Regions from separate parts of the Homo sapiens genome. Here regions 1 and 2 are each linked to region 3. The links are contacts of gene promoters, found by promoter capture Hi-C in blood cells and fetal thymus (Javierre and others, 2016). All regions are on one chromosome and are shown on one strand. Each heading gives the region's core, a stretch centred on a gene start or on the middle of the fragment in contact. The rest is flanking DNA. Distances are from core to core; before and after follow the strand shown. Region 1 overlaps BDP1 (BDP1 general transcription factor IIIB subunit). Region 2 overlaps MCCC2 (methylcrotonyl-CoA carboxylase subunit 2). Region 3 holds the start of CENPK (centromere protein K).

What was found. The method cuts DNA at HindIII sites, captures the fragments that hold promoters and counts their contacts. A CHiCAGO score of 5 or more calls a contact.
Region 1: a fragment that was not itself captured here is called in contact with the fragment with the promoter of CENPK in region 3 in 8 of 17 cell types (non-activated CD4 T cells, total B cells, naive B cells and 5 more); the score reaches 16.7 in non-activated CD4 T cells.
Region 2: a contact is called between a fragment that was not itself captured here and the fragment with the promoter of CENPK in region 3, in 6 of 17 cell types (naive CD4 T cells, total B cells, non-activated CD4 T cells and 3 more). The highest score is 15.1, in naive CD4 T cells.

The regions. Positions count from the first base shown.
Region 1 is chr5:71,456,818-71,461,110 of GRCh38, reverse strand. It overlaps BDP1 (BDP1 general transcription factor IIIB subunit), which reads right to left. Exons shown (of 39, transcript NM_018429.3): 2 at 2,256-2,532. Among named protein-coding and RNA genes, the nearest start is that of BDP1, 3.3 kb to the right of the region's middle. The HindIII fragment of the contact is 2,309 bases long and covers 527-2,835 here.
Region 2 is chr5:71,590,302-71,594,441 of GRCh38, reverse strand. It overlaps MCCC2 (methylcrotonyl-CoA carboxylase subunit 2), which reads right to left. Exons shown (of 17, transcript NM_022132.5): 2 at 1,450-1,516. Among named protein-coding and RNA genes, the nearest start is that of MCCC2, 5.0 kb to the right of the region's middle. The HindIII fragment of the contact is 540 bases long and covers 1,364-1,903 here.
Region 3 is chr5:65,561,890-65,566,343 of GRCh38, reverse strand. CENPK (centromere protein K) reads left to right here and starts at 3,176. Exons shown (of 11, transcript NM_022145.5): 1 at 3,176-3,246. It overlaps PPWD1 (peptidylprolyl isomerase domain and WD repeat containing 1), which reads right to left and starts at 3,048. Exons shown (of 11, transcript NM_015342.4): 1 at 2,838-3,048. The coding sequence starts at 3,033. RefSeq lists enhancers at 2,599-3,259, 3,400-3,539, 3,260-3,921. The HindIII fragment of the contact is 1,930 bases long and covers 2,331-4,260 here.

The DNA of each region.
Region 1 (4,293 bases), core at 432-2,931, 5.9 Mb before region 3:
CTACTTGGGAGGCTGAGGTGGGAGGATCACTTGAGCCTGGGAGGTTGAGGCTGCAGTGAACTGCAATTATACTAGCGCACTCCATCCTGGGTGACAGTGAGACCTTGTCTCAAAACTAAATAAATAACCAAAGAATAAAACTAATAAAGCTCAATGTATAAAATGCTTACTGATGCCTTCTAACTAAACATCTTAATAGCTCACTGAGAATTTATGCTTACACAGCTTTTTTTTTACCCTGTAGTGACTTGAAATTCTGTGTATTTTGTAAAATTCTTGAAGCAAATGTTTAATCTTTAATTCCCCAAAATAAATTAAATAAGCAAATAAGCAGTTTCTGTAAAATACAGAACTTTTTTTTAATCCCCCCACCCCCAATTCCCAACCCATAAAACATTTTTAGAGGCTTTGATCTGTCGCCCAGGCTGGAATGCAGTAGCACAATTTCAGCTCACTGCAACCTCCGCCTTCCAGGTTCAAGCAATTGTTGTGAGGCTTACATTTTAGAAGACATAAATTGAAAGCTTGTTTTCTCCTGTGTGAAACAGTGATATCTACTTCACATAGTTGATATAATTACATAAGATAACAGATATAAAGCACCAAGCAAAATGCCTTCCCTTAATTTAAAAAAAACTAAGAGGCATTTTATAATTCATAACAGAAGCTGACACTGGTTGGACACTTACTATTTTCATGACACTAGTTTTTTTGTTTGGTTGGTTTTTTTTGAGACGGAGTCTCGCTCTGTCACTCATGCTGGAGTGCAATGGCACGATTTTGGCTCACCGCAACCTCTGCCTCCCAGGTTCAAGCGATTCTCCTGTCTCAGCCTCCTGAGTAGCTGGGATTACAGGCGTGCACCACCACAACCAGATAATGTTTGTATTTTTAGTAGAGACGGGGTTTCACCATGTTGGCCAGGCTGGTCTCGAACTCCTGACCTCAGGTGATCCGCCCACCTCGGCCTCCCAAAGTGCTGGGATTACAGGCGTGAGCCACTGCACAAGGCCCAAGACACCAGTTTAAGTGTGTTTTACATGTATTGACTCATTTAATCTTCACAACCCTCTAATGAGCTAGATAGAGGTTGAGCATCTCTTATCTGAAATACTTGAGACCAGAAATGATTCACATTTTGGATTTTTTCACATTTTTGAATACTTGCAGAATACATGCTGGCTGAGCATCTCTAACCTGAAAATTTGAAATCCAATATGCTCCAATGAGCATTTCCCTGGAGCATCACTTTGGCACTCAAAACATTTTAGACTTTGGAGCATTTTCAATTTCAGGGATGCTCAACCTGAACTATTATTGGTCTATTTTACAGATGAGGAAATAGATTAATTAAATTACCCAAGGTCACAAAGCTAGTAAAGAAATGAAGCTGAGATTCAATCCCTAAGTATTTAACTCCAGGGCCAGCATGCTCTACTGCTGTTACCTGCCCTTCTAGAAAAGAAATCAATCCTCAAGATTAAAAAGAACATGGACTCTAATATATGCATAACACAAATTTTTCCCACTTGTAATTTTCCATAGTCAATTTAGAAAACATTACCAATTCATTCTGCTCAACTATATTCGTCTTTTTTTTGGAGACAGTTTCACTCTATCACCCAGGCTGGAATGCAGAGGCACAATCTCGGCTCACTGCAACTTCCACCTCCCAGGTTCAAGCAATTCTCATGCCTCAGCCTCCCCAGTAGTTGGGATTACAGATGCACGTCACCAGGCCCAGCTAATTTTTGTATTTTTAGTAGAGACAGGGTTTTGCCATGTTGGCCAGGCTGGTCTTGAACTCCTGACCTCAAGTGATCTGCCCCCCTAGTCCTCCCAAAGTGCTGGGATTACAGGCATGAGCCACCACGCCCGGCCTATACTTGTCTTAATTCAAATAAATATATCACTTATCACTTGGACATCTTTATGTGAAAAATCAGACTGAAGGTTTATTTTATAAATATGTTTGTGTATGTGCATCTATGTGTATGCGTATGAAACTTATTTGTGGTCTTCACCAAAAACAGTGAAAACATAAATAAATAATGTAAAAATTACTATCAGTGAAAAATGTAATTTAAGTCCACGGTGTATCAATCAATCCATTAACAAGAAGGGATGTTCTATTGACTAAGGGATGTTATGTGGTTTTGTTCCCCCATCAAAATGCTACAAATGCTTTTCTTCCCAATGATTCCTTACTAACATAAATAGAAGGCAACATCAAAATCCTGATTCTCCTCCCTTACCTTCTCTTTTCTCAATTCTTCTTTTAACATTTCCCTCAGTTTCTGGGCTTTGTATATTCGGTATCTGTCTGAGCATGGCTGTTTCTCTTTTGTTGAAGTGGCAGTTGGCTGTGGAGCCTCTTGATTAATTGTAGATAAGGGATGAGATTCTGAAGGAACACTGACACTAGACTTAACCAGGCTAGAAGTACTTGATATTCGCTTTCTTCTCTGTGAAACAGTAGAGGAAGATCTACTGGATTCTTCAACATCATTGTCACCACCAGTCTTTTCAGTACTGTTGAAATTAAAAAAGAAAAAAGAGGGCACATGAATCTTCTGTTACACATGCTAGTTTTAAAACCTAGTCTGGTGAAAATCCAAAACTGCAATCTCGTAATTAAAAAAAAAAAATTAGTAACTTGAGATTTATGATAATTATGACAGGTTACAAAAAAATTTGTTTAGTAAATCTTTTAAATATACGTAAATTCTAATAGACTCTTAATCTTTTTCAAACATAAAGTCCCTAGGCACATTACAGCACATAATTATAGGCTTACCCCCCTCAAAACAAATAACCAACTTACAGAACAAAGCTTAGTCAACCTAATTTGAATTACTAAGTAACAAAGTAATAATTTATAATTAATTTCTATATAAAATTTAAAAAAATTTTAATTCACTCTGACATTTTAAACTGGTCTAAACTACCGGCATTTTACTTTACTTATCAACCCGAGGTCAGTCAAATCAAATATGCAAAACTCCAAACCTCTGAAATATCTGTATTGCAGTATTTGAAGAAAAACATTTAGTTACAGTAGCCAAACCCAATTCCCTTTGAGGCAGAAATCATTTATCTTTTGTCAGGTACAACTCTACTTATACAGCCATCAGAATAAACTTCAGTCAAAAAAAGTACTCAGTCACCCCAAATTGCATATTAGGTATGGTATACCTCAGATATAAGTATTTCAGGAATGGTCTATAAATGCAACTTAAGTCAAGAAAAGAGGTGGTATAAGTCAATAATTAAAAACAGTCTACTTTTTTCCTATTTTATAATTACTTATAAAAAATTAGAAAATGCCTTAACTTATAGAATAACCTTTCCAGGAAGACTTCAATTTAAATTCGTATCTTAGCTGTTATGGATACATGCATTATCTGCATTTCACCCAATTATGTTGAATGCATAATGACAGAATATATATCCTATAGAGTTTTACAACTAGCAAAGACCCACAAAAAAATAAAAAGAGGCTGGGCACGGTGGCTCACACCTGTAACCCCAGCACTTTGGGCTGAGGCAGGTGGATCACTTGAGGTCAGGAGTTCGAGTCCAGCCTGGCCAACATGGTGAAACCCTGTCTCTACTGAAAATACAAAAATTAGTTGGGCGTGGTGGGGCACGCCTGTAGTCCCAGATACTTGGGAGCCTGAGACAGGAGAATTGCAAGAACCCGGGAGGTGGAGGTTGCAGTGAGCCGTACCACTGCACTTCAGCCTGGGCGACAGAGCAAGACTCCATCTAAAAAAAAAACTAATTAAAAAAAAAAAAAAAAACCACTTTCCCAGAGTCAGTAATGGCAAAAAAAGTGACTAAAAAACAAATTATATTCCCCAAACGTAAATGTCAACTCAAAAAAAAAAATTAAATATCCTTGACCATAAATATCTCAAAACTACAATCTTTGGGCAATTTATTAAATTATCAACCATCACGCACTCACACATAATTAACGAAATCTCTGAGAACTTTATTAATGTAACAGCGACTAGTATCGGTATCTCCTTTCTGTGTAGAAATTTTGAAACAGATTCATGTAATAAACTTGGAAATTACTAACCATCACTGAACTATCAACGTAACACCATACACTCAGCACCAGTTCAGGCCAATAGAGGAAGATGTTCCAAAAATAAATAAATGTTTCACCTTCCTATCACAGCATAAACAGAATTTGTACTATCTCACTTCACTTAACAAGGCTGTTTACTGATTTCCTCATATATATAGAAACAGAGACCATCTTAGCCTAACATGTCTTAAATT
Region 2 (4,140 bases), core at 384-2,883, 6.0 Mb before region 3:
ATTCTCCTGCCTCAGCCTCCCGAGTAGGTGGGATTACAAGCATGCGCCACCACACCCAGCTAATTTTGTATTTTTAGTAGAGACAGGGTTTCACCATGTTGCTCAGTCTGGTCTCGAACTCCTGACTTCATGTGATCCGCCCACCTCGGCCTCCCAAAGTGCTGGGATTACAGGCGTGAGCCACTGTGCCTGGCCCCAAAACCCACCATCTTAATGTCTAAGGGGGACAGTGAGTTCACCAAATCAAACTCTCAAAATGGGCATAACAATTGAGTTATCACCCCTAACAAAACACTTTCATTTCAGCAAGAGTTTGAATTCTTTTTCTGGAGACAACACCTTGATCTAAAATGGCTTCAAAAGTATGAATTCCATAGCTGCGTACAGGGGCACAGGTACAGTCTCAGCTACTTGGGAGGCTGAGGCAAGAAGATCACTTGAGCTCCCGACTTCGAGTCCAGCCCGAGCAACAGAGTGAGGAGACCCTGTCTCTAAATAAACTAGTAAATAAGCAATTCTAGACCATACTTTCCAAATCCAGTCTTCTTCACTATTTTTATACTCCTGAGATCCAGTATTTAAACTACTCTAACCTAAATGTAAAATTTTACATTAAAAGTATTATATACAATTTTAAGTATTATATACTTGTTGATAAAAGTTATCTGAAACAGTCTATCAAATATGAAGAATGCTTTCCATCTGAGATTCAGCACTTAGGGAGGAAATATTAAATGCCTACTAAGAAATCACTGGCCAGGTGTGGTGGCTCATACCTGTAATCCCAGCACTTTGGGAGGCCAAGATGAGAGGATCGCTTGAGCCAGGGGTTCAGTCCAGCCTGGCAATAGAGCAAGAACCCATCTCTTAAAAAAAAAATTAATAAAAATTAAAAATAAATTATTTATTCATAAAATTTATGAATTTGAATCTTTACTTTTCCCCCCAAAAGTGGTAGTACTCTATGAAGAGAAAAACTGGCCAAGTAATAGGAAAAATAAAATTAAATGCCTGCATACCAACAAATGCATAGTCTTAAGAGTCAAAAGCTCAGCCAGGAGTAGTGGCTCACGCCTATAATTGCAGCACTTTGGGAGGCCAAGGCAGATGGATCACTTGACATCAGTAGTTCAAGACCAGCCTGGCCAACATGGTGAAACCTTGTCTCTATTTAAAAAATACAAAAATTAGACAGGCATGGAGGCAGGCACCTGTAATCCCAACAACTTGGGAGGCTGAGGCAGGAGAATGGCTTGAACCCAGGAGGCGGAGGTTGCAGTGAGCTGAGATGGCGCCACTGCACTCCAGCCTGGGCAAGAGAGCAAGACTCCATCTCAAAAAAAAAAAAAAAATATCAAAAGCTTAATTCCAGTATTTTTCCTAAAAGCAATAACTATTTTAGGACATCTTAAGTAAAGGCATAAGCTGTGGAATAAATGCTGTGTTTACCTAGTTTTATATGCTCCACTCGTTCATGGAGCTGATTTACTAGTGCTTTCATCTGCTTGTAGTTCTCCTAAAACAGAAATAGAGGAGACAGGGGAGAGAAATATTAGAAAGCAATTCCTTTTTACCAAAATAAAGGTCAAAAAAAAAAAAAAAACAGTGGTCTGTGCCAACTCTGTGTGGCCGCCACACTGGGCCACCCCATCTGTGGCAGCCACGCTGGGCCACTGGATCGTATGGAAAAGATTCACCCCTGCCTGTCTTGTTCAAGCTCTTCTTCACCACCCCACTTGTCCATCTCTCCATATCTTACTCCTCTGTAAGCCTAATTCATGTTTTATCTCATCTTCAACTCTACTTCTGGCCACTCCTACTCAATTTAACATCTTTCTTCCTTAAACACCTTCTGAACTTAAACTGATCTCTATTTGTTTTCCTATTTTAAGGAATATAAGCTTTTTGAAGGTTAGAATACCATCTTATTTTTCCTGTCCCATCAGTCACTATCTGAGATTCCAACCAATGCTTGCTTACTGACAAAGTACACTTAAAAACAAATCCCAGAGGGAGAAAAAGGATCTTATTTTTATTTTTAATTTTGTATTTTTATTTTTTGGGACAGAGTCTCCCTTTGTTGCCCCGGCTGGAGTGCAATGGTGCAATCTCGGCTCACTGCAACCTCCGCCTCCCGAGATCAAGCGATTCTCCTGCCTCAGCCTCCTAAGTAGCTGGGACTACAGGTGTGTGCCACCATGCCCAGCTAATTATTGTATTTTTAATAGAGACCGGGTTTCGCCATGTTGGCCAGGCTGATCTCAAACTCCTTACCTCAAGTGATTTGCCCATCTCGGCCTCCCAAAGTGCTGGGATTACAGGCATGAGCCACCGCACCTGGCCAAGGATCCTATTTTATGTTTTAAAAAGAACAGGCTGAGTGTGGTGGCTTATGTCTGTTATCCCAGAGCTTTGGAAGGCGGAGGCAGGAGCATCGCTTAAGCCCAGGAGTTTGAGACCAGCCTGAGTAACATAGGGAGACTTCCATCTTTACAAAAAGAATAAAAATAAAAAGAATAAAAATTTAAAAATTATCTGGGCATGGTGGTGTGTCCCAGCGACTTGACCAACTAAGGTGGAAGGATCTCTTGAGCCCAGGAGTTTGAAGCTGCAGTGAACTAGGATCGTGCCATTGTACTCCAGCCTGGGTGACAGAGCAAGACTGTTTCAAATAAATAAATAAATTAGTAAAAAGAACAAAACTCGGCCAGCCGTGGTGGCTCACGCCTGTAATCTCAGCACTTTGGGAGGCCGAGGCGGGCAGATCACCTACGGTCGGGAGTTCGAGACCAGCCTGACCAACATGGAGAAAACTCGTCTCTACTAAAAAATACAAAATTAGCCAGGCAAGGTGGTGCTTGCCTGTAATCCCAGCTACTCGGGAGGCTGAGGCAGGAGAATCCCTCGAACCCGGGAGGCGGAGGTTGCAGTGAGCCAAGATTGCATCATTGCACTCCAGCCTGGGCAACAAGAGCAAAACTCCATCTCAAAAAAAAAAAAAAAAAAACAGAACAAAACTCTATGCTGGCATATATACACAAATTAAGTAATACACAAGGAAATATTGACAGTGAGAAGTAGAAAAGAGGTAGAGGGACTAACTTTTCACCCTTCTGTATTTTTAAATTTTGTTTGGTCAGCATATTACTTTAGAACAATACTTAACTAGCTAATTATCTTTGAAATTCAGACTTGGCCCACTAATACATTTTGCTCCCCATGTGATTAGCATCTCTAGTTATTTAGTTCCTTCTGTTTGACAGAACACTAAGCAACTTCCTAACTGTTCAAACTTAGATGAATATTCAGTCTACAGTATATCTCCATTATTTCCTATTTTCTACAGCTCCAAGAGCTCTGAGGGTCATGATTTCTGCTACATTCTCTTGCTCTGCAAAATCCAGAAAATAAAAAACAAGGAAGCAGCATGGTATTAGGGAAAGAACCAGTTGGAGCTAACACAATATACAGAACTTGTCACCCTACAACAGCAGAAAAAAGTATGTAACTTTTCTCAAGTGCACAGGCAACATTCTCCAAGATAGACTACATGTCAGGCCACAAAACAAATCTTAATAAATTTTAAAAGACTGAAATCATACAAAGTATCCTTTTTTTTTTTTTTGAGACGGAGTCTGGCCGTGTCGCCCAGGCTGGAGTGCAGTAGCACAGTCTCAGCTCACTGCAACCTCCGCCTCCCGGGTTCAAGCGACTCTCCTGCCTCACACTCCCAAGTAGCTGGGATTACAGGCGTGCGCCACCATGCCCAGGTAATTTTTTTATTTTTAGTGGAGACAGGGTTTCACCATGTTGGCCAGGCTGGTCTAGAACTCCTGACCTCAGGTGATCCACCAGCCTCGGCCTCCCAAAGCGCTAGGATTACAGGCCTGAGCCACCATGCCTGGCCCAAAAGTATCCTTTCAATCACAATGGAATGAAACTAGAAATCAATGGCAGAAGGATGACTGGAAAATTCACAAATATATGGAAATTAAACAACGTACTTTTAAGCAACCAGTGGGTCAAAGAAGAAAAGCACTGACCCACTGAAGCTGACATTTGCCTCTACAGACTGGGCAACATCTGTGCCAAGCTCAGCCCATCAGACTTAAATCACAGAAGAGCCAGTACTGGCTACAG
Region 3 (4,454 bases), core at 1,927-4,426:
ATGAAGATGAGGGCTGTACCTTAGTTATGTTGGGCAGAAAGCTGGAGAGAGCCTAGGAACTTCTGGAGCCTCCACACCAATCCTGGACTGCCTGCCTGTCTTGGTACTTCTACACATAAAAGTACAGCTCTATCTCTTCAACATCGTTATTTTGGGTTTTTCTGTAGTATGTAGATAAACTTAATCCTATCTGATCCAGATTCCTTTTTCTGTGTGATAGTTCACTTGTGGACAAATACTTACTAAGAACACAATACGTTCTAGGTCACATGGGCATAAAGAAGAGTAAAACACAGTTCCTGTCCTGAAGAGATATAGTGCTATATAATCATGTCTTTCTGAAAATATATACAACAGTCCAATGTCCAAAGAACATGTTAAAGGGGGTGACTCCATTTCTAGAAAGCTGAAATTGTTAAATACTTGTCCATTTAGACAAAATTTTAAATATTTTTGTAACATTCTATGTATGTTTTTTAGTTTCAATTTTTTTCTTCAAACTGAATAAACTATTGGCTTTTTTTTTTTTTTTTTTTGAGACGGAGTCTTGCTCTGTTGCCCATGCTGAAGTACAGTGGCACAATCTCAGCTCACTGCAACCTCTGCCTCCTGGGTTCAAGTGATTCTCCTGCCTCAGCCTCCTGAATAGCTGAGATTATAGGTGTGCGCCACCACGCCCGGCTAATTTTTTTGTATTTTTAGTAGAGACTGGCGGGGTTTCACCATGTTGGTCAGGCTGGTCTAGAACTCCTGACCTGATGATCTGCCCGCCTCAGCCTCCCAAAGTGCCAGGATTACAGGCATCAGCCACCACACCCGGCCAACTATTGGCTGTCTTAAAACAATAAATAACTGATTAAGAGGAAAGATTTTCACACCTACTAATTTATATCTGTCTCCGTTATATTAAGTTTATAAGACACTTGTCCGGTAACACTAATATCAGCATTTCGATATTTCTGGATTTTTACATTTCTCCTTACTCGTTTAATTAAAAAAGAACTTGCAAAAATATTCATATGCAACAAAATAGCTAAAGACCAGCATAAAAGCTTTAATATGCAGTCATTAAATACTTAGGCAAAGCACTGTACACCAAGCAATGAAACAAAAAAGGCGTGATTCTGGTTCTTACTTGTTTACAGTCTTAGCAGTGGAGAGAAACATTCATCAATCACATGAATAAATATATAATTAGAAACTGCGGCAAGTGCCATAAATAAAATGGTTACTATGGAAACATTTAATAAGAGGACCAGGAAGTAAAAATGATAATGCACTGTAAGGGTGTCAATATACAACGTTCAAAAAAACAGCTTCTTCAAAATTTGGATACATAAAATTTGAAGGCTACCTGTAAATTCAGTATTGATATATAACTACCTCAGAGTTATGATCAAAGTGCTTCAGAAATCCAGTCCAGACTGGAGAAGTCACAGGCTTCCCAGAGAAGATGATAGCTAAGTGCTAAAGGTTGACCAAAAGTCAGTTCAGTGGAAGAGTTGAGGGAAATTATTCCCGGTAGAAACACCATATCTGGGTAGGAATCCAGAGGAAAAAAAAGTACAAGACCGATTCTCGAGTGATTTTAGAATGGGTGGAGTACAAAGTAAGGGGTTGGGAGAGGAAGGTAATGGAAGATGCACTAAGAAGGTAAGGAGAGATCACATCATAAAGGGCTTTATATGCCATGTGAGGGAGTTTGGGCTTTAATGAAAATAATGAGCTGGGCGCCGTGGCTCATGCCTGTAATCCCAGCACTTTTGAGAGGCCGAGGCAGGCAGATTACGAGGTCAAGAAATCAAGACCATCCTGGCCAACATGGTGAAACCCCGTCCCTACTAAAAATACAAAAATTAGCTGGGCGTGCGCCTGTAGCCCCAGCTACTCGGGAGGCTGAGGCAGGAGAATCGCTTGAACCCCGGAGACGGAGGTTGCGGTGAGCCGAGATAGCGCCACTGCATGCGCTCCAGCCTGGGCGACAGAGCGAGACTCCGTCTCAAAAAAAAAAAAAAAAAAAAAAAAGAGAGAGAAAATAATGACAAATCATTGAAGTTTTTTAAGGGAAGGTGCTAAAGTACGATTTGAGCTTAGACCACATTTAAAATGTCTTAAATACTTAAGGAAAACATTTCACAGAAAAACAAGATAACAAAACAACAAAGACAAGAAAACTTAATCTACCCCTTTTCCCACCCCTTTTATTTGATAATAATTTGTGATTATTCCTCGTTAGTGACAAAAAGACTCAGCCCATCGTATCAAGAGCGTGATTTCAAAACCACAGACTTCGGGTTTTGGATGAAAACAAATCTGTGATCTAGGAAGCTTACGTCATTTTCCCTAGATGCGAAAATTTATTAGTGGAAGTGTCAGAGTTGAAATTATCTTTACCTACCATGATTCGAAATAAGCACCGCCTTCCTCTCGCGCCCCAACACATTAATACATTAACACCACTCCTGAACTAAAGCCTTAAAGAGAACTGGTACCCTTTTGCATACCTAAATAAGAGTTCGAAATTCCAACTTCATGTGGCTGCTGTGGGGAGTAAATGAGAGGAGCCAAACACATAAGAATAGGAAAATGTTAGTTTTAGCATCTGTCATAACAAATCAATGATCAAAAGTGTTAGATATTATCAAAAAGACGTTGTACTACGCTTAAATCACTATTTCGTTAAGACATGCAAGTATGGAGTAGCCAGAAGTGAGAGGACGGCCCTCTGTTCTGAGGGCACAAAACTCCACACATCATCCCTCTTCGGATCTGGCTTGAACCCTCCTACTCAGCGGACGCAGCACTCCAATTCGTCCCGGTACTATGTCTGCAGCTACCTTTCCTCTTCTTGGCCAGTGTTGCCTCCACAGGTAAAGGTCCAACCCAGCGCTCTTCGTTCTCCTCATCGTTCTCCTGGGACACCGCCACTGCTACTGCCAGCTCTCTTTCGCTGAGTTCTGTTTTTTCCGGTTCCTCCGGGTCCCGGCGCCTTCTACGTCTCTGCTGAAAATCGCTACCACTTTCCGCCGCCATGTTGTTCGCATCGTCAGAAAAGGCGCGACACAAAACTCAGCTACCAATCCCAAAGCAGCGGCGCAGTCTTCTGTCAGCGTCCGAGCGAGTTTCGGGATTGGCTGGGGTGGGAATGAGCACATCCAATGGGCATGCAGCGCGCGCAGAAGTCCGGGGCTGGCAAGCGCTTCCTGCGCAGCGCCTAGGCGACCTGGAGTTTGTGACGCTGTGATGGTAAGACCTGGGCCGGGGAGGTTGATATAACGGTTGAATCTTGTGGAGCTCCAGTCCTGAAGGTGAAACCCTTATCGCCGGCCAACTAGATACCTGACTTCCCAGCCGGGCTTTGAGTCCCGTTCTTCTCGGCTTCCCGCGCGCCAACGCAAGCTCCATAACCTCACCAATATTTAGAGAAAGATGGAAGGGTGGGGACAGAAGGAAGTGGTTAACTCGCGGGTTTCCTTTCAGATGCACTAAACATGTTTTCTCTCCTGACCTTTATTCTCTCACACACTCTCTGAAGAAGGTGGTGAGTGCTTGTTACTGTTTCTGGGGGTGGGGTGGAGAAGCAGCTACTTCAAATAACCAAAAGACCTAGGGCAGAACGGGTCACTCTTCTTTCTTCTCTCTGGTATAGGATTTCATCTCCTAGCAGTCATCTGAACTCTTTCTCCTCCTCCTCATCTGTCTTCTTCATTTTTAAAAAATTAGGTAAAAAGCACATAACATAAAATGTATTATCTTAATCTCTTTTTTAAAAAATCAAATACAGCTTGTCAAAATGACCTCCGTAAAACACTTCTTTTTTCTCTGCAATTACTTTTGCACCAACCTAATAAAATCCTCGTCGTAAATCTCTTCTCTACTTTTGCCTTGAGATAGGCACCACGTACAGGGAAGGAACTGCCCCCCCATAGTAGGCACTTTATTTTATTTCAAAGGTTCCCATTATTTGACCATTCTACCTAGCAAGTCTCATTTCTTCTCTGCCCTCTGCTCTCATCAGACTACTTTCTTTTGTGTCTCACAAATTTCCCTTGTTCGTTCTTGCCTCCTACTCTTATGTTTTTATGCTTGAAAGCATCTCCACAGCGATTTAGCCTTCATGTTTACAGCTTCTCATCTTTCAGAGACCAATGCAATAATGAGGATGAAGATGATAATGATAATGATAATAATAATGTAGCTAGTTAACATTTATTAAGCATTATTATGGACTAATTCCTTCCGGGTTGGTTTTTCTAAGCTTCCCTATCCTGAATTCCGATAGTACTTGCAGGCAGTGTTGTATACTTTACCATTTCATAGCACTTCTGACTACCTGAAATCATATCATGTATTTAGTTATCCATTCATTTATATTGTCTGCATGAGAATGGAAGCTCTACAAGTACAAAGACTTTTTCATCTACACAGCTAAAGCCAGTGTCTGACCAATGGCA